Regions from separate parts of the Homo sapiens genome. Here all the other regions are linked to region 4. The links are contacts of gene promoters, found by promoter capture Hi-C in blood cells and fetal thymus (Javierre and others, 2016). All regions are on one chromosome and are shown on one strand. The core of a region is centred on a gene start or on the middle of the fragment in contact, and the rest is flanking DNA. Distances in the headings are between cores, read along the strand shown.

Region 1 (2,771 bases), core at 197-2,696, 370 kb before region 4:
TGAGTGCCTGTTATAAATTTAGCCTGAGAATAATCTATCATGAGGCGAGCTATACTGATTATGGGCCAGTAGTTTAATTTTTATATGTAAAGGTGTGTGCTCCATATATCACAGGATTCTTTTCAAGTTCATTTTTCTCCAAGTCAGGCCAGTGTTCTAAGGTCATAGGTCTAAACAGTTCCCACCAAAAAAGATTTAGTATAAAAAAGAAATATATCAACAGCAAAGTAAAGTTATAGGAAAGCCTCCATCCATAAGAAAATCATTTTCATAGACTAAATCAGCTTGAGAGCAGGCATTGAAGAACTTATCTCGGTCTAAACAGCAAAACAATCTGTGTTCCCTAGAGAATACTCAACTTTTTTTTCTTAATTTTTCTAAAGTTTCTCATTTTCATTTAATGACTCTGCTTGAATTAGACTTTTCTTTTTCAAACAAAATGGTTCTTCTGAATGGAGGCTACAGAATGTCTTTACTCTGCATAACACTGAAGGCCATTAGCCTAAACAGGTGAGAAGGAAAAGCATTTAATCCGGTGTATGGAAATGGAAGCCCTCCTGCAAACTTCTCTAAATAAGGAAGGATCCTGGTTTGAAAGGCTGTCGATGTTTGGCAGCAACTGAAGCAAATAGACTAGAAGTTAAGCTAATAGAACTTTTCATATCAACTGAACATTGCTTAAGCATTCCTCAAGCTTCTCCTGTAAACCTAGCATTCTGCAATAAATTGTGAAGGAAGAGATGTCCTTTACCCTAAAGGTGTTAGTATCTTTGGAATGTGTCTTTCTACAAGTAATCAAGTAAGAATGTGTGACCATGTTTTTATGCAAATATGGATAGGAAGAAGTAGAGAAAAAAGGAAATCATAACCTTTACTCTCCCCACCACCAACTGTGGCTGTGAACCACCATACACAGCCCACCTGTGTCTCACTATAATTCTGCATGCCACTTTAAGGTCTAGTTGGGAGAAAATGAAGATTGAGTGGATTTATAGGCTCTTAGATATTTAAAGGAAAAAAAAAGAACTTTAAAACTAAGCCCCTCAGTTTTCAGTGAAGACAATTGAAGTCTAAATGATAAATGTAGAAGAGGGATATTTCGTAATCCCTGGAAAATAGAAAATGTCCAATAAATATTAGTTAACTGAATTAATTTCCTAGATTCTTGCCCTTCTCTCATAGGAAAAGAATATGAAATTAAAAGATATAAAGGATACCTCTCATCTCTCGCTACTAATACCTACCATAGATCCTTTCTTCAAGCAGAAGTTTAAAATTAACATACTAATTGGTTCAGCCCAATATTCCATCCATCATTGCCCGCAAAAGATATAGAAGTACCCCTACATCCTTAAGGAGCATAAGACTGACGATAACATACTCTTCATCAGTATTGACAGTTATAATGATGGCAAGTTATGCACCTTTCCTTAACTTTGGTTTGCTTTCAGTAAAACAGGGGTAACACCTGGTAGTTGGTGGAAATAAGTGAGATGTTTGTAAAGCACTTCACATTGGGACCTGACACATAGCACAGGCTATTATTAATTTTCCTTAGTAACTAATATATTTTTGTGATCACCAAATAGAACTAAACCATTCTTTATGTTTTATTCAGTTTACATCACAACCTTATTAACTCACAATTTAGTTGAGTTTATGCATTAATTAGTTTAGTGAACTTACTATTATTTTATATAACAAAGAGTATTCCCTTCCTTGTATACTAAATTTACCTCTTTCGGGCTTCAGGTGTGTCGTCTTGTCTACTATTTCAGTATTTAGGGAGCAAAACCATGTTGGGACCAAGCACTAGATTTATACCCTCTGGGATTATGTGTCCTAGGCCCAGAGAACCAGGTACCTGGGAAAACATCTAAAGGGAAAAACAATTCAAAATATACTTAGAGCCTCTGCTCATGGCCTCACATGCATTATTGCATTCAACTCAATAACCTTTTCTGCTAGCTGTTTTTAATCCTTAATTTATAGATGAGGAAATTAAAGCTCTGGAAGATTAGGTAAATTGCTCAAGGTTCATAGGTGTAATAAGTAATGGAGTCAGAATTTAAATTCAGGTCTGTCCATCTTCAAAGCTCATAACTACATTATATCCTTCACAGTGTGAAAATAGAGTGATGCAAAAGATCTATTTAAAATGCTTAGCACACACATAAACATTTGCACAAAGAAGCTTGGCATTTGCCATGGTAAATACCTGCAATGGAAGGCCACTCTGCCTTTGTTAACTAGAGAAATAGCTCTAGTTATCAGTCTGTAAAGACACTGTGGAGATGTCTCAGCAGAAAATAGAGATATATATATTATTTCCCTAAATTGGCTGTTTTCTCTCTTGTCTACTGATAAACTGTGGTAAGCAGAACAATGCCCCCCCACCAAGGATGTCCCCATCTGTGAAATCTGTGAATACGTTATGCTCCATGGCAAAAAGAAATTAAAGTTGCAATTGGAATTAAGGTTGTTAATCAGTTGACCTTAAAATAGGGAGATTATCATGGATTACCTTGGCAACCCAGTGTAATCACAAGCGTCCTTAAAAGTGGACGAGGGAGGCAGGAAAGACAGGTTCAGTGATGTGACATGAGAAGTATTTAACCTGTCATTTCTGTCTTTGACACTGGAAGGGGGCCACAAGCCACGTAAGGTGGGAAGCCTTCAGAAGCCAGAAAAAGCAAGGAAATGGATCCTCCCCAGAGCTTCCAGAAAAGAACACAGACAGCCCTGCTGACACCTTGATTTTCACCCAGTGA
Region 2 (2,700 bases), core at 53-2,552, 330 kb before region 4:
ATCTCTATTAAAAATACAAAAAAAATTAGCTGGGCGTGATGGCACGTGCCTGTCATCCCAGCTACTCAGGAGGCTGAGGCACAAGAATCGCTTGAACTTGGGAGGCAGAGGCTGCAGTGAGCTGAGATCACGCCACTGCACTGCAGCCTGGGCAACAGAGCCAGATCCTGTTTAAAAAAAAAAAAAAAGTTTAAGACAAAAAAGGAAAGCTCACTTTCTATCAACAATAGCTTCCAAAAGACAATAACAGGGCTGAGTGTGGTGGCTCATGCTTGTAATCTCAGCACTTTGGGAGGCCGAGGTGGGCAGATCACCTGAAGTCAGGAGTTCGAGACCAGCCTGGTCAACATGGTGAAACTCTGTCTCTACTAAAAATACAAAAATTAGCCAGGCATCATGGTGGGCGCCTATAATCCCAGCAACTCAGGAGGCTGAGGCAGGAGAATCGCTTGAAGCTGGGAAGTGAGCCACTCAACCTCCGCCACTGCCCTCCAGCCTGGGCAACACCGCGAGACTCTATCTCAAAAAAAGACAATGACAGTAACTCGAAAAGAGGCTCCTCTTAACTTCTGCCACCCTAACCCATAACTCCACCCATTTCTCCGCTGGACTTACCTCATTCACAGGGATCAGAATACTGAATTGTTGCCTGTTCATCTGTGAAATGAAATAAGTCATATTATTACTTTGAGGGCCTCCTATATTCAGAGGGAAAATGCTTCAGAAAAGCTACTGCTTGAGCCCCTTCCAGAGAATCTCTACAGGTTATGAGCATATTCAGAATTACAAGAAAGTTTCAATCACTAATATTTGTACATTGTGACAAACTATTAATCATACCAAAAATAATAGAAATAGCCCTTTGAGAACAATGGTTCACATTGTTCTCCGATCACATAAAATGTCTCTAGTGTACGCAACTTAAAAATGGCACACAACTGAATTAAAATATTTTAGGAGATTAGATAATTTAATTATGTGCTACTTGGCTTGGGAAGGAGTATTTGTAAAATTAAGAGAGAAGCCATGAAGAATGAGGCAGAAGTAAGTTGGGAGATGCAGGTAAGATCTCAGATCTCATTTCAGCTCAGCCCTCTCACCTGGTAGGTAGTAGTCATAGACCTTGATGGTTGCTGGTTTCAAGTTGGTGACCAGCACACTTTGGCTGATGGTGAAGGTGTAAGTCTGAGTGTTCTTAATGAGCTGTGGGGAAGACAGATGAAACAGTACCTTAGAAGTAAAATGAAAATTACACTGTATGCAATGTGGAATAAAAGACCCTTGCTGTCTTCATGTAGATTTTCTGAAGCCCCGCCAGGCACGGTGGCTCATGCCTCTAATCCCAGCACTTTGGGAGGCCGAAGTGGGTGAATCACCAGAGGTCAGGAGTTCCAGACCAGCCTGGCCAACATGGTGAAACCCCATCTCTACTAAAAATACAAAAATTAGTCGGGCATGGTGGCTGGCACCTGTAATCCCAGCTACTCAGGAGGCTGAGGCAGAAGAATCGCTTGAACCTGGGAGGCAGATGTTGCAGTGAGCCGAGATGGCGCCACTGCACTCCAGCCTGGGCGACAGAGCGAGACTCCATCTCAAATTAAAAAAAAATTTTTTTTTTAATTAAAAAAAGATTCTCTGAAACCCTCTATGTACCGCTACTGCCCTATGAGTCTTAAAGACATTGCCTCCTGCTGACTTCCTGGCTCTTTCTTCTTAGGATCTTACAGCTCTCTGGCCCTCTTGTGAACTGGTTCCCTTTGTTCATGGTCCACCCTGACCCATGGCTTCTCCACTAAATTAGTCAAAGTGGCCAGAGAAACAGAGGCTTGCATTTTACTCCAACAGTTCTATGCCCCTTACTGGTTTGCTTTCTTCAATCTGGTCCCTGAGCAAATGATACCTCCTCAAAGAGGCTTTCCTTGAACACCTTATTTAAAAAGAGTCACATCCCTGGCCTGCCCCACCAGCACTCTTTATCCCCTTATGCTGCATAGCACTTATTACTACTGAAAAAAAATGTGTGTGTATACACATATACATGTAATTTTTAAAAACCTGAATATTGTTGTCTCTCCACTAGAATATCAGCACTCTTAGGCCAGGTATCATATCTATTGTTTTCATTGCTACGTCTCCATCACTTAGAAAAGTGACTGGCATATGTTGGTTGTTCAGTAAATATTTGTTGAATAAATTAGCAAATGGAGAATCTAAGGCAATTGTATAAGTTACTTTAATATAAAAAAATAAATCCTAGCTACTTGGGAAGCTGAGGTGGAAGGATCATTTGAACCCAGGAGGTGGAGATTATAGTGAGCCAAGATCGGGCCACTGAAGTCCAGCCTGGGCAACAGAGTGAGACCCTGTCTCAAAAAAAAAAAAAAATCGTATTATAAATTTAGATATAGCGCTATTAACGCCTAATTGGAAGGGATTTCCAAAGTTCTTCAGGTATAGTGCTTCTCAAAGTGTGGTCGAGGGACCTCCCCTACTCCAGGGATCCCCGAGATTGCATCAGAATATCTGAGAGGTCAGAATTATTTTTAGAATGATATTAAGACTTTTTTTTTCCACTCTCATTCTCTTACAAATATACAGGAGATTGTTTCCTTCTGGGGAAAGTGATTTAAAAAAATAAAAAACAAAACAAGTATACAGGAGAGTTATCAGAGGCTACTTTATGTGTAATATTGCAACGGT
Region 3 (2,700 bases), core at 130-2,629, 430 kb before region 4:
AAAGACATTAAAAGTATAATAAGGTAATGTTATATCTTTATGTCAATAAATTTAACAAGTTAGATTAAGTAGACAAATTATTTATGGAAAAAAAACAGAATTTAACAAACTGACACAAAAAGAAATAAATTTTTGAATAGCTCTTTACCACTAAAAAAAAAAGAATTGGTTAATACACACTTACCCACAAAGAAAACTTCGTGCTCAGGTGACTTCAATAGCATACTATATTAAACTTTAAGAAATAAATAACAATGCTCCTTCAAAAAGTAGAAAATGTAAGTACACTCTCCCAATTTGGTTTAGGAGGCCATTATGACTCTGATACCAAACCTGACAAAAAATTGCAAGAAAAGAAAATTACAGACGCTCCGCCTTCAAGATTATAGACATGAAAATCTTTAACAAAATATCTATAAAAATATAAAATAAATCATCATGACAAAGTACAGTTTATCCCAGAAATGTACAATGTTGGTTTAACATTCTAAAAGCAATCAATGTACTTTGCCATATTAACATAATGAAAAAGAAAAAAGATATAGATCACGTGAACTGAAGCAGAAAGAAGCATGAAAAAAAATTCAACACCCATTCAGAATAAATAAGGTCTGCAAAAGAACAGAAGGAAACTTTCTCAATTTGATAATGGCTTCTACATAAAACCTACAACTAACCTAACACACTTAAGGTGAAATATTGAATGTTATCTCAGTAAGATTAAGAACAAGGCAAGGATGTCTTATTTCAGCAACTCTATGAAACACTGTACTGAAATCCTAGAGAAAAGTAAATAAATAAAAGATGAAAAGGAAGAAGTGGAATTTACCAGTGAAGCCGAAAAGTAAATAAATAAAAGATGAAAAGGAAGAAGTGGAATTTACCAGTGAAGCCATCTGGGCCCAAAGCTTTCATTGTGGGAAAACTTTAACCATAAATTCAATTTTTTCAGTGGATAGGGGAATATACAGGCTATCTGTTTCCTTGAGTGACTTTGGTAGTTAGTGTCTGTCAATTTATTTGTTCTTTTCATCTAAGTCAGGGATCAGCAAACGTTTTCTGTAAGAAGCCACACAGTAAATATTTCAGGCTTTTCTGGCAATGTGGTCTCCCACAACTACTCACTTCTGCCACTATAGTACAAAAGCAGCCATAGATACAATGTAAATAGTTGTGTGTGTGTTCCAATAAAACTTTACTCACAAAAGAAATGGCAAGCCAGATTAGGCACACAGGCCAGATTTTACTGACCACTTATTATCGTGGTTGTTTTGCTTTGTTTTGTTTTGTTTTTTGAGACAAGGTCTCCCTCTGTAGCCCAGACTGGTGGAGAATGGCACAATCACAGCTCACTGCAGCCTCAACCTCCCAGGCTTAGGCAATCCTCCCACCTCAGCCTCCAGAGTAGCTGAGACCACAGGCATGCACCACCATACCTGGCTAACTTTGGTATTTTTTGTAGAGATGGGGTTTCACCATGTTGCCCAGTCTGGTCTCAAACTCCTGGGCTCAAGCAATCCACCTGTCTTGGCCTCCCAAAGTGTTGAGATTACAGGCATGAGCCCCACCATGCCCAGCCCTTAGTATGCTTTTCATGGCTTAGAATCTATAGTGATTTTACCTCCCTGATTCCTGATATTGGAAATGTGTGCCTTTCCTCTAGTCATTTTGTCAACATTTTATCAATTTTATTGATCACTTTAAAAAACTAGATTTTGGCTTCATTTTCTCTGTTGTTTTTCTATTTTCTATTCCATTGATGTCTTGTGCCTCTTTATTAGATTCTTCCTTTTGCTTACTTTAAGTGTAATTTCCTCCTCTTCCTCTCATTCCTCAATGTGAAAGCTTAGATCATTGATTTGAGACTTTTTTTTTTAACTAAAATAAAAGAGCTCAACCAGAAGTTCCACACTTTCACCTGCTACGGTAGCCAGCCCACTGCCAAGGAGAAGCCTGCAACCTCAGAGCTGGAATGCCCTCAAATCCATGACACTGGGCTCTTCCCCCAGAACTCCCAAGAACGGCTGACTGCACTGAGCAACAGCCTGGGAGCCCACAGAGCCACCCAATGGCAACTTCCAGAAAGAGGTGTGAGTACCACGCTGTACTGGCCACTGCATGTAAACAACTCACCATTTTCACACTCCACTTTGGAACTAGCCAGGAGCCACTGCACCCTCCTCTTTCCCAAGGCCTGGGCAGGGAGGCACAGCAGACTCAGCCTGGCTGGAGGAGCCAGACACGGTTTTGCCTGGAAGCCCAGGGCCCTTACTTGTTTCTCAGAGGCCCCTCAACCACTGGAGCCACATCTTAGCCCCTACCTGTCCTACCCTGTCCAAGGCTGGAGATGGGAGAGGAGAGCTTTGTTGAGGATAAACTTCACTCTGTGGAAATAAAAAATAATAATGCTATAAATTTTAGCATAATGCTAAAATTTTAATGCTATGAATTTCCCTGTAAGCACTGCTTTAGCTGCATCCCTTGATGATGATAATGTTTTCATTTTTGTTCAATTCAAAATATTGGTAATTTAATTCATTATTTCTTCTTTGACCCATGGGTTATAGAAAAACTGTTAATTTTCAAATATTTGGGGATTTTCCAGGTATTGTTTTATTAATGATGTCTAGTTTAATTCTGTTTTGGTCAAATATACTTTGCATGATTTCAGTCCTTGTAAATGTATTAAAACTTGTTTTA
Region 4 (2,700 bases), core at 54-2,553:
CAAGTATCTGGAATTACAGATGCGTGCCACCACACTTGGCTAATTTTTGTATTTTTAGTAGAGGTGGGGTTTCACCATGTTGGCCAGGCTGGTCTCAAACTCCTGACCTCAAATGATCCACCCACCTTGGCCTCCCAAAGTGTTGGAATTACAGGCATGAGCCACTGCTCCCGGCCCAGAGAACCATTAAATTCTAATATCTAATTGAAATTGCTTTTTCTGACCTTCAAATACATTTCTCCTACTGTAGGCTGTAACATAGAACTAAAATCCCCAAATAATTGAGAACAGGAGAATTAAACTGCCTGCTGGGTCTCTGAGACTTCAGAAGCTGCGTTATGTTGTGAAAAACTAAGCTGAGTTTCAAAGTGGTCTAATCACATGAGGCTGTCCTGCTGAGGGGGACTCTAGTAGTCAGCCTAGTAGTAGCAGCCTAGTAGTCAGCATAAGATAAGAGGGACATAAATCCACAACATTAGAATATTCAAGAGCTGCAAATGAAGAAGAAAGAAAAACCATAAAAGATGAAAAAGAGGACGGGCGCGGTGGCTCACGCCTGTAATCTCAGGACTTTGGGAGGCTGAGGCGGGCGGATCACGAGGTCAGGAAATTGAAACCATCCTGACGACCACAGTGAAACCCCGTCTCTGCTAAAAATACAAAAAATTAGCCAGGCGTGGTGGCGAGCGCCTGTAGTCCCAGCTACTCGGGAGGCTGAGGCAGGAGAATGGCTTGAACCCGGGAGGCGGAGCTTGCAGTGAGCGGAGATCATGCCACTGCACTCCAGCCTGGACGACAGAGCGAGACTCTGTCTCAAAAAAAAAAAAAAAAAAAAAGATGAAAAAATTCAGGTTGCCATGTCCTAAATACATACACTATATGCCCAGCTTTGTGCTATGTTGTCTAAGTCTTCTTTTCAGTTACCAAATGTGTGGATGGTACAGATCCAAAGTGAAATTCAGAGTGCAGAGGTGAGCTCCATATTGTCAAGGAAAAACTGGGGGATGAGTTATGCCTTGAAGAAACTAGAGACATTTGGTCCAACGAAACGAAACAACATTTAAAAAAAAAACTCTCCTGTTTCCCCATGGCTAGCCTATTTGTGTTGATGCTTACCATTTCATAATTTCCTCATTTTGTTGTTACATGGAGTGAAGAGAACTGACATGCTGTCCAATAAACTTCCTTGTCCTCCTTATGCAAGAAAGGAAATCCTGACTTAATGCGTAGCCACAGAACAAGTTAATATTCTACATCTATCGGAGCTGAACTTCCTAAAAGACAAAGTGTTTATCTTTCAAGATTCATTCTCCCTGAATCTTACCAACAAAACACTCCTGAGGAGAAAGAAAGAGAGGGAGGGAGAGAAAAAGAGAGAGAGAGAAACAAAAAACCAAAGAGAGAGAAAAAATGAATTCATCTAAATCATCTGAAACACAATGCACAGGTAAAATCTGCAACTCTTCCTTTCCTTCCATAGATCTCTTTTTGGAACAAGTGATAAATATGGTGAAAGACAGGACAATAGAAAAGTATTCACTGAAGTTAAAAAAAAAAGTGGGGGGACAGAGGAAGAGAGAGAGAGAGATTTAAAGACTATTTCTTATACCAGAAAGCCTGCTGGCCTCTAGCTAAGGGAGAGCTATCAGTTTCCACCCTTTCTGCAATACATTGTGTCCCTTTTGGCAAGTCACTTCACTTCTCTGGAACTCTCTTTGTCTGTAAAATGTTTAATGGGAGGAAGAGAGGAACTATTAGATGACTGTTAACATTTTACCTAATTTACAAAGCGCTTGAAAAGTGAGACACAGAAAAAAAAAAAAGATCAGGAGAAGGACAAGAAAAGCAAAGACGAGAAAAGGGAAAAGAAAGAAAAAGAAAGAAGGGGGGCCTTAGAAAATACTGAAAAAAATTTAACTGAGAGACTTAGAAAGGAAAAATTGTATATCTGAGTTCATGAGTCAGAGTCTTACTCCAGGGGTGCTAAACGTGTGGTCCTCAGACCAGCAGCAGCAGTAGCCCCTGGGAACTTGTTGGTTCCATACAAACTCTACTGAGTTGCTAACTCTGGGGGTAAGGGTCAGCAATCTGTGTTTCCATAAACCCTCCAAGTGATTCTGAAGCATGCTGAAATTTGGGAATTACTCAGTACAAACAATGGAAGTAGAAGGAAATAAGTAAGGATGAATAAGAATCTCTTCTATCTCTTTTGTACCTTGCTTAGGGAAGATTGATCATGTTTGTGTCTTTCTTTCTACAGAGAGAGGATGCTTCTCTTCCCAAATGTTCTTATGGACTGTTGCTGGGATCCCCATCCTATTTCTCAGTGCCTGTTTCATCACCAGATGTGTTGGTGGGTTCTGAAGGTCAAATTCAATTTAATTCTTCCTGGTGCATATTAGGAGAAAACTCTTCCATGCTGCCTGTAGACTCTCTTTGCCCTCAAAGGGTCTTTCTATTTCACCCTTTTTTTTTTCCCTATTAATCTCTAGGTTATTTCTCAAACCAGAAACCTCAACAAGCAGGGAACTGTTTCTGAATTTTAATCACCTGTGACTTACTTTTCATGATAGACATTTTTCACTTCCTTGGCAGTCCTGAATCCTCCTCTTTCAGCCTCTATCATTAGTGTAACCTTCTCTAGGAGAGTCTGCCTTAGAGCTTGAACTACTGGTCGGCACCAGAGATATGACTAATTAC
Region 5 (2,700 bases), core at 139-2,638, 410 kb before region 4:
TGGGGCAACATCCAACCCAGATATGATTACTACCTAGCCTGAACTGAATGTATTACTAATAAACAAAGAAATGCAGAATGGCATACAGTCGGTAAAGCGTAGTGCTTGAGAGCATGGATTATGGAGACTATTTAAATACTGGCTCCATAACTTAATAGCTTGGGACCCACGGTGTTACTTAGCTTCTATCTGCTTTAATTTACTCATCTGTAAACTTGGGATAAGATACTTCCTCATAAGGTTGGTGTGAAGACCAAGTGAATTAACTATCGTTTAAAGCACTTACAAAAGTGCCGGGCACCACCGAGATATGCATCCGTTAGCTTTTATTATTATTAGACTCAAAACACTGTAGTAGTTCTAATGAGAGGGGTAAGAATCAAAAATCCAGGCACCTGCATAGAGCCAGAGAGGCACACATAGAAGCAACGTAAGAGTGGAAGCGGAATGAAAACATGCTAAAGCCAGGTACAAGCCACAAGCGAGGGTCCACAGGAAGAAATTGTTAATTCTGAAGAGAGTGAATGCACGAAGTTACAGGAAAAATAACATCTGAACAGAGTTTAAGAATGAGCAGGACTTCAACAAGTGGCTAGTAAGACATAAGGAACCTACAAAAGATCTTAGCAAAGGCGCAAAGATTACCATCGTATTGCTCGTTTCTTCCTACTTTGCAGAAGTAACCTCTGGCGAACAGAGGTGGTTGCAGAGCATGCTTATCAAGCAAAATACCACGAAGCAGTAAGGAACGACAGAGATAACAGTAACAATAATAATTCACCCCAAGGTACTCAACTGGAAAAAGGAAATACAGAGGAGAGGTGTCGTTAAGAAAGCCAGGACGCACATCACGGCCCCGTCGCTGCACTACTCTCGTCTAGGGGTCAACAGTGGAGTCGAGACTCGAAGCTTCCACGCGGCGGAACAGCGTCCCTCTCAGGCGGCGAACGGGCTAGGGAAGCGCCCGGAGGAGACCTAGCGTGAGAACTACAACTCCCGCGGAGCCCGAGGGCGAGCTGCCTGCGTAACTTCCGCTTCCGCCACCTGCCCCTCTCACCCTCTTCACTCGAACCCTACCCGGGAGCGGTCAGGCGCGTGACCCCGCGTGACCGGGGTGCGCGAGCCGAGAGGCCCTGGAAGCGGGACTCTGGGACCCCATTGAAAGAAAGGCAACCAGAAAAGGCGAAACGACAACCTCGATAGTGATTGGAGCTGATGGAACGAGGGCGGAGCTAAAGTCCCAGAATACTGGCCAATCAGAGTTTAAGATTATCAGGGAGCCCGGGAAGGGGAAAGGGGCGAAATGGTTCTATGGTCACATGCCGCGGGGTCTGGTGGGAGGAGCGGTTGCCCAGCGGCCTCTTGGCGCTTCCTGTTTCCGGTTCCCAGAGTGGGGCACAGCGAGGCGCTAGGGGGAACGCTGGCCTCTGAAACTAGCTCTGGGACCGGGGTCTGCGGCCGGCCCCTAGCTGGCCCCGTCTCCCATCCCCAGAAGGGTATTCACTGGGGATTCTGAGCTTTGGCTACTCCAGTTTCCCACGACACGTGAGTGTGAGGGGCGTGGAGGAGGAGGCGGGCTGGGTTGCGCTCACACTTAAGCGTCTGTGACAGGAGCCGGAATCGCATTCTCCCTTGACCATGGTTCTAGCCAAAGATCTGGCTGAGGAGCCCTAAGGGTAGAATGGAGGCGGAGGCATGAGAGCGGAGAGTCACGGAGTTCCGAAAGGTGTGAGGGAGAAAGGACTTCCAAGACCAGAGAGGGGATTTACGATATTTAGAAAGCAGGGAAAGGAAAATACCCCAAGTATGGAGTCCGTTGGAGGTGTTGGTGGATTTATTTGTAGGAGGAATTTTGGCCTGCATCACGGTGGGAGGTCAAGTGGCATCATTTGGAGAGGGTATGGCTACAAGCGCTTGGAAAGTCGGGACACTAGACAGAGCGAGAATTTCTGGCACCCTGGGAGAGCTTTGAGGGGGATGCGACTGTGGTGTGGATAAGAATGGCTGATGGACGGATTATCTTGTGTTCCTCGTTGTGGGGAGCTTCCGCTCTTGGGACATAGCCGCTACTTGTCTGAGGCTCCTTCTCTCTTGAGTTCTTTCAGCATTAGGCCTTTTAGCCAATTGAGGCTGCTTTTCTAAACATGTAGGCTGCTGGAGAAAAAGGGATAAGGACTGCTACATCAGAAAGGAGCCAGCGGGAAGACAGTAGAAATTCCACTGGTAAATGGCCATGGCTGTCTTAACAGATGGGGAAGTGAGTGCTACAGAGGCCCAGTGGTGTAAGCTGCTTCCCAGTTGCTGGCTTAGTCATTGGCCACCCTAATAAAGGATAATTTTTAGCATTGCCAAATAAAATAGATCTGTCGTTAGAGAATAAGAAAACTGAAAGATTTTTCAAGATCATAAAATCCTGCTCCTTATTTCCAAAGTATATAGACAAACTCTTGTACCTTGAGAATCTAATTGTAGCATATTAAAAGGGGGCTACTGGGCCCTTCCATTTCATTCTCTTCCTGATTGTTGCACCCCTATGTTTATAAGTTTTCCAGCAGTTATCTTTATGCCACGAATCGTCTAAATTGCCCCAGTAACTTCACACACATTTAATATCTGTGTAATGTACAGCAAGTAATTTAACAAGTAATTCTGTAAAGCATCAGTTTTCTCATCTGTGAAGTATGAAAAATTATACCTATT
Region 6 (2,700 bases), core at 26-2,525, 490 kb before region 4:
TGTATAGTATTCCATGGTGTATATGTGCCACATTTTCTTTATCCAGTCTATCATCGATGGACATTTGGGTTGGTTCCAAGGTAGTTCTGTCTTAAGTTCTTCGAGAAATCTCCAAACTACACTTTTTTGTATGAACGCACAGCTTACCACACAAATGTATTGTACAGCTATACAAAAATATTTTCTTTCTTTATATCCTTATTATATAAGTTTTTTTCTATTTAATTTTTTTTTTACTTTTTAAATAGCTTTGTTAAAAACTAAGACACAAAAACATACATTAGCCAAGGCCTACACAGGGTCAGGATCATCAATATCACTGTTCTACTTCCTTATCTTGTCCCACTGGGAGTTCTTCAGGGGCAGTAACACGCATGAAGCTGTCCTCTCCTGTGATAACAATGCCTTGTTCTGGAAAACCTCCTGAAGGGCCTGCCCAAGACCGTTTTACAATTAACAAATTTTTTAATGGATAAGTATAAAGAATGTACTCTAAAATAACAGTAAAAAGTATAATGGCCAGGCACGGTGCCTCACGCCTGTAATCCCAACACTTTGGGAGGCCGAGGCGGGCGGATCATCTGTGGTCAGGAGTTTGAGACCAGCCTGGCCAACATGATGAAACCCGTCTCTACTAAAAATACAAAAAATTAGCCGGGCATGGTGGCGCATGCCTGTAAATCCCAGCTACTCGGGAGGCTGTGGCGGAAGAATCGCTGGAACCGGGGAGGCGGAGGTTGCAGCGAGCCGAGATCACACCATTGCACTCCAGCCTGGGTGACAAGAGTGAAACTCCATCTCAAAAGAAAAAAAAAAAGTATGGTATATTAAGTACATAAATCAATAACAGAGGCACATATTATCATCAGGTATTATGTATCATACATAACCGTATGTGCTATGGTTTTTACATGACTGGCAGTGAAGTAGGTTCATTTACACCAGCATCACCACGAACACGTGAGTAATGAGTAATGTGTTGTGCTGTGATGTTATGACAGCTATGATGTCCCTAGAGATAGGATGTCACTAGGAATTTTTCAGCTTCGCTATAATCTTATGGATATAATTACGGCATATGTGTGATCTATTGTTAACCGAAACATCATTATGCTGTGCATGACTGTATGTATCTCTTCTACTGGTTCTGCTTCTGTGGTTGAAACCTGACTGATACAATACACAAATACCAATTGTCTCTCATGGGGTTCTTCAATGGATTTTTAGGAGATCCTACACAGAGATACATCCCTGAGGAATTTCTGCACTGCATCATTCCCTGATACAGGTGAGATGCTCTCTGGGAGGCCTCCTGTGACTTTACCTTAGCTCTCAACTTCTAGTGAAGCATCCAACATGGCTTCTTTCTTGTAGGATCTCCCACCGATAGGGAGTCCTCTTGGATAAAGCCCTTTGTAGAGGACGCAAACCCACATCTGCTACTTCTGGGATGAGGGGAGCTCATATACCCACTCACCAAATAGTGAAGCTGAGCCTTGAAGCCACCCCACCTTACCCTGTCATCAGGAGCAACTTCTGCTAACTTCTCACCACTGGGCCTCTCTAAACAATAGTCACACAAAAGTGTCTTTGTCCTCTTCAGTAAGGGACATAGGTCAGGTTCTTCCAAACACTTTTTTATTCTCCATGCTGTCTCAAATTTACAAGCTCCCATAGCTGAGCAAGCATAGAGCCAAGGAGTAAGACTCTGTCTGCCTTCAGCAAGCAGTGCCCAATTTCCCCAAAGTGCCCTCTTGTTTCCCCTCTCACTTGGAATCAGGGTGGGAGGGGAAATACCCCAGTAATCCCCTTTTTTTTTTTTAAAGAGTCTCATTCTGTCACCCTAGCTGGAGTGCAGTGGTATGATTGTAGCCCATTGTAGCCTCTATCACCCAGGCTCAAGTGATCCTCTCACCTCAGCCTCCCTAGTAGCTGGGACTACAGATATAAACCACCTTGCCCAGCTAATTCTTTTATTTTTTTATTTTTGTTAGAGATGATGACTTTCTACGTTCCCCAGGCCAGTCTTGAACTCCTAAGCTCAAGCGATCTTCCCTCCTTGGCCTCCCAAAGTGCTGTGGTTACAAATGTAAGCCACTACACCCAGACCCCAGCAATCTTTTGATTCACAAATTCTTTCAAGGAATTTGTCTCTGCAATCATGTAATCACCGGCAGTTTCTTCCTGCCCTCTGCACAGGCAAAATCAATTCACTGAGACTACGGCATAGCAGTAAAGAAAGAGTTTGATTGACAGGAGGCTAACTCATGTAGTAGAACCAGAAATATCACTCAAATCAGTCTCCCTGAAGGCTCAAAGTTTTGGGGGTTTTAAAGGATAGTTGGTGGTCAGAGGGCTAGAGAATGGGGAATATTGATTGATTGGGGTAAAATCATAGGAGTGTGGAAAATAGTCTTCATGCACTGAATTGGCCTCTGGGTAGGGCTACAGGACTGATTGACTCATGAGTTGCAGGTCTGGCCCGAGTCAGCTGGTCATGAGAAACGTTAACAGTCTGAAAAAAATCTCAAAAGGCCAATCTTGGGTTCTATAACAGTTGATGTCATCTACAGGAGTAATTGGGGAAGTTACAAATCTTGTGACCTCCAGAACAATGGCTGGTTATCGTTTCACTTTGCCTACATTTTAGCAGAATTCAGGCCCCTCTCATAATTCCTAATCCTAACCTGTGGCCTTTCA
Region 7 (2,700 bases), core at 28-2,527, 350 kb before region 4:
ACTGTAGTCCCAGCTACTTGGGAGGCTGAGGCAGGAGAATGGCGTGAACCCAGGAGGCGGAGCTTGCAGTGAGCCGATATTGCGCCCCTGCACCCCAGACTGGGGGACAGAGTGAGACTCCGTCTCAAAAAAAAAAAAAAAAAAAAAAATCTGGAAAGCAGACCACAAGATGTACAGAACAAATGGCGGAACACAGAAACCAGAAACACGGAGAAAAGTAATCTCGGTTCCAGAGAAGGCATAGGCTATCTCCCCTTACAAGAACAATCCTCCCACACCGCACCCCTCACCTGTCTCATTCCTGCTTATTCTTCATCTTGCAACTTGAGTGTCACTTCTGGGAATTCTTAATTCAGCCCAAAGATTAGGTTAGGTTCCCACAACCTGACTGTGCTTTGTCACATTCATCCCCCTAATGAAGGGCAGGCAGTGTTGCTCTCCCTCACTAAGCTGCAAGCCTGGGAAGGGCAGGGAGTGTGGTTGTCACATTCATCCTGTTCACTACTCAGTGGGTGCCCAACAGATTCGCACTTAATGAAGGCCCCTCTGCTGGCCTTCAGATTTCAGTGCTTATGGAATAATTATTTCTGTCCCCTGCCACTCAGCCCTGTACTCTGCTTTGTGATGGAAAAGAGGAAACCAGGAATAAGAAAATGTGCCCCACAGATTTTGCCAAAACCATAATCTGTTAGATAAATTGCTGAGAGGGAAAACACTAGAATACCTCAAACGGTAATTCCATTCAACACAAAATACGTAAATATACGTACTTTGGGAAAGTACATCACATATCACCACAGAGCAAACGCTGTTGGATCGCCATTATTTAAGGAATATCTCATACTCAGTTTCTGGATTTCTGCAACAACTGGTAAAGGGGAAAATATCACATTTCTTAAATTTATACATGTATAGGCTGGGCACGGTGGCTCACACCTGTAATCCCAGCACTTTGGGAGGCCGAGAGGGGAGGATCACTTGAGGTCAGGAGTGTGAGACCAGCCTGGCCAACATGGTGAAACCCTGTCTCTACTAAAAATACAAAAAAGTTGTCTGGGCTTGGTGGTGGGAGCCTATAATCCCAACTACTTGGGAGGCTGAGATAGAAGAATCACTTGAACCTGGGAGGCGGAGGTTGCACTGAGCCGAGATCGTGCCACTGCACTCCAGCCTGGGTGACAGAGCAAGACTCTGTCTCAAAAAAAAATAAAAAGATAAAAATAATAATAAAAGAAATTTATACATGTATAGTTGAATAAGCACAGAATATCTCTGAAAAGATATACCAGAAACTGAGAATTAGCCAAGCCCCACCCACACACTTTACTGCCTACATTAGCTTGACTTTGCTATTCTACTGTCTTTACCAACAAGACTTTAGTATTTCAGGAAGCCCTTGCCCCAAAAATAAAAGCTGTAATGGGAATGGGTAATGGGTACAAAAAAATAGAATGAATAAAATGTAGTATTTGATAGCACAACAGAGTGACTCTAATCAATAATAATTTAGTGTGCATTTTAAAATAACTAAAAGTACAATTGTATTATTATTTTTTCTTGAAACAGAGTCTCACTCTGTCACCCAGGCTGGAGTGCAGTGGCTCAGTCTTGGCTCACTGCAACCTCTGCCTCCCAGGTTCAAGCAATTCTCCTGCCTCAGCCTCCTGAGTAGCTGGAATTACAGGCGCCCGCCACCACGCCCGCCTACTTTTTGTATGTTCAGCAGAGATGGGGTTTTGCCATGTTGGCCAGGCTGGTCTCCAACTCCTGACCTCAAGTGATCTACCCACTTCAGCCTCCCAAAAGTCCTGGGATTACAGGCGTGAGCCACTGTACCTGGCCTAATTGTATTGTTTGTAACACAAAGGATAAATGCTTGAGGTCATAGATATCCCATTTACCCGGATGTGATTATTACACATCACACGCCTGTATCAAAACATCTCATGTATCCCATATACCTACTCTGCACTCACAAAATGAAATTTTTAAAAACTTTTTATTTCCATAGGTTATTGGGGCACAGGTGGTATTTGGTTACATGAGTAAGTTCTTTAGTGGTGATTTGTGAGATTTTGGTGCACCCATCACCCGAGCAGTATACACTGAACCCAATTTGTAGTTTTTTATTCCTCTCTCCCTTCCCACCCTTTCCGCCCAAGTCCCCAAAGTCCTTTGTATCATACTTATGCCTTTAATTTTTTTTAACTGAAAAAACTTTTTAAAATAAAACTTTTAAATAATGTTATTGTTCATTTCAGGAATATCCAGACAACGTATTTTAAATTGCTTAGCTTTCCAGTACAGTTATCAAATGATTATTCATGCTCCAAAACTTTTTTAAGCCCTCACCTTGCTAAATCATGATCCGTACCCAAACTTAATCAGAGCCCTTCACTGAAAGACCCACCTTAATCCAACCTAGAACCTCATAAATATCCTCCCTTTGCCCTCCCCTCCCAGATGCTGCTCAAGTTTCCGCAAGGCGGTGTGCTCCCTTGCTAAGACATGAATAAACTCCAGCTTTGCCTATCTGTGAGATTTCGGGTGGTGTATTTCAGGGCGCTGACATTTGGCAAAAGTAATAGTATAGGTTACATCCGAGGAGGGAACTGAGAGAAGAAATGTGGAAGGTGTCTCTTAGGACCTTTGAATTTTTACGTGGGCGTGTATTGTCTATTCGAAAATAAATGCTAAAAC

Evidence for each region. Contacts are between HindIII fragments. The CHiCAGO score rates a contact against its expected background, and 5 or more counts as called.
Region 1: a contact is called between a fragment that was not itself captured here and the fragment with the promoter of CLEC4E in region 4, in 6 of 17 cell types (neutrophils, M1 macrophages, total CD8 T cells and 3 more). The highest score is 7.3, in neutrophils.
Region 2: a fragment that was not itself captured here is called in contact with the fragment with the promoter of CLEC4E in region 4 in 2 of 17 cell types (naive CD8 T cells and non-activated CD4 T cells); the score reaches 6.7 in naive CD8 T cells.
Region 3: a fragment that was not itself captured here is called in contact with the fragment with the promoter of CLEC4E in region 4 in 1 of 17 cell types (endothelial precursors); the score reaches 5.1 in endothelial precursors.
Region 5: the fragment with the promoter of M6PR here is called in contact with the fragment with the promoter of CLEC4E in region 4 in 5 of 17 cell types (monocytes, neutrophils, M1 macrophages and 2 more); the score reaches 9.6 in monocytes.
Region 6: a contact is called between a fragment that was not itself captured here and the fragment with the promoter of CLEC4E in region 4, in 3 of 17 cell types (total B cells, naive B cells and endothelial precursors). The highest score is 7.8, in total B cells.
Region 7: a fragment that was not itself captured here is called in contact with the fragment with the promoter of CLEC4E in region 4 in 7 of 17 cell types (total CD8 T cells, neutrophils, naive CD8 T cells and 4 more); the score reaches 11.8 in total CD8 T cells.

The regions. Positions count from the first base shown.
Region 1 is chr12:8,909,790-8,912,560 of GRCh38, reverse strand. No RefSeq gene overlaps it. Among named protein-coding and RNA genes, the nearest start is that of PHC1, 3.3 kb to the left of the region's middle. RefSeq lists an enhancer at 367-919. The HindIII fragment of the contact is 1,500 bases long and covers 697-2,196 here.
Region 2 is chr12:8,872,928-8,875,627 of GRCh38, reverse strand. A2ML1 (alpha-2-macroglobulin like 1) reads right to left here. Exons shown (of 36, transcript NM_144670.6): 34 at 1,101-1,203; 35 at 616-657. The coding sequence ends at 617. Among named protein-coding and RNA genes, the nearest start is that of PHC1, 40 kb to the left of the region's middle. The HindIII fragment of the contact is 9,645 bases long and covers 1-2,700 here.
Region 3 is chr12:8,968,711-8,971,410 of GRCh38, reverse strand. It overlaps a transcript of KLRG1 not described here. Among named protein-coding and RNA genes, the nearest start is that of KLRG1, 19 kb to the left of the region's middle. The HindIII fragment of the contact is 937 bases long and covers 911-1,847 here.
Region 4 is chr12:8,539,508-8,542,207 of GRCh38, reverse strand. It overlaps CLEC4E (C-type lectin domain family 4 member E), which reads left to right and starts at 1,303. Exons shown (of 6, transcript NM_014358.4): 1 at 1,303-1,447; 2 at 2,261-2,353. The coding sequence starts at 1,411. The HindIII fragment of the contact is 5,761 bases long and covers 1-2,700 here.
Region 5 is chr12:8,948,333-8,951,032 of GRCh38, reverse strand. It overlaps M6PR (mannose-6-phosphate receptor, cation dependent), which reads left to right and starts at 1,388. Exons shown (of 7, transcript NM_002355.4): 1 at 1,388-1,545. It also overlaps a transcript of KLRG1 not described here. RefSeq lists enhancers at 686-815, 314-1,218, 1,219-2,124 and a silencer at 794-1,008. The HindIII fragment of the contact is 9,162 bases long and covers 912-2,700 here.
Region 6 is chr12:9,032,564-9,035,263 of GRCh38, reverse strand. It overlaps a transcript of KLRG1 not described here. Among named protein-coding and RNA genes, the nearest start is that of LINC00612, 31 kb to the left of the region's middle. The HindIII fragment of the contact is 5,098 bases long and covers 1-2,700 here.
Region 7 is chr12:8,890,802-8,893,501 of GRCh38, reverse strand. No RefSeq gene overlaps it. Among named protein-coding and RNA genes, the nearest start is that of PHC1, 22 kb to the left of the region's middle. The HindIII fragment of the contact is 4,563 bases long and covers 1-2,700 here.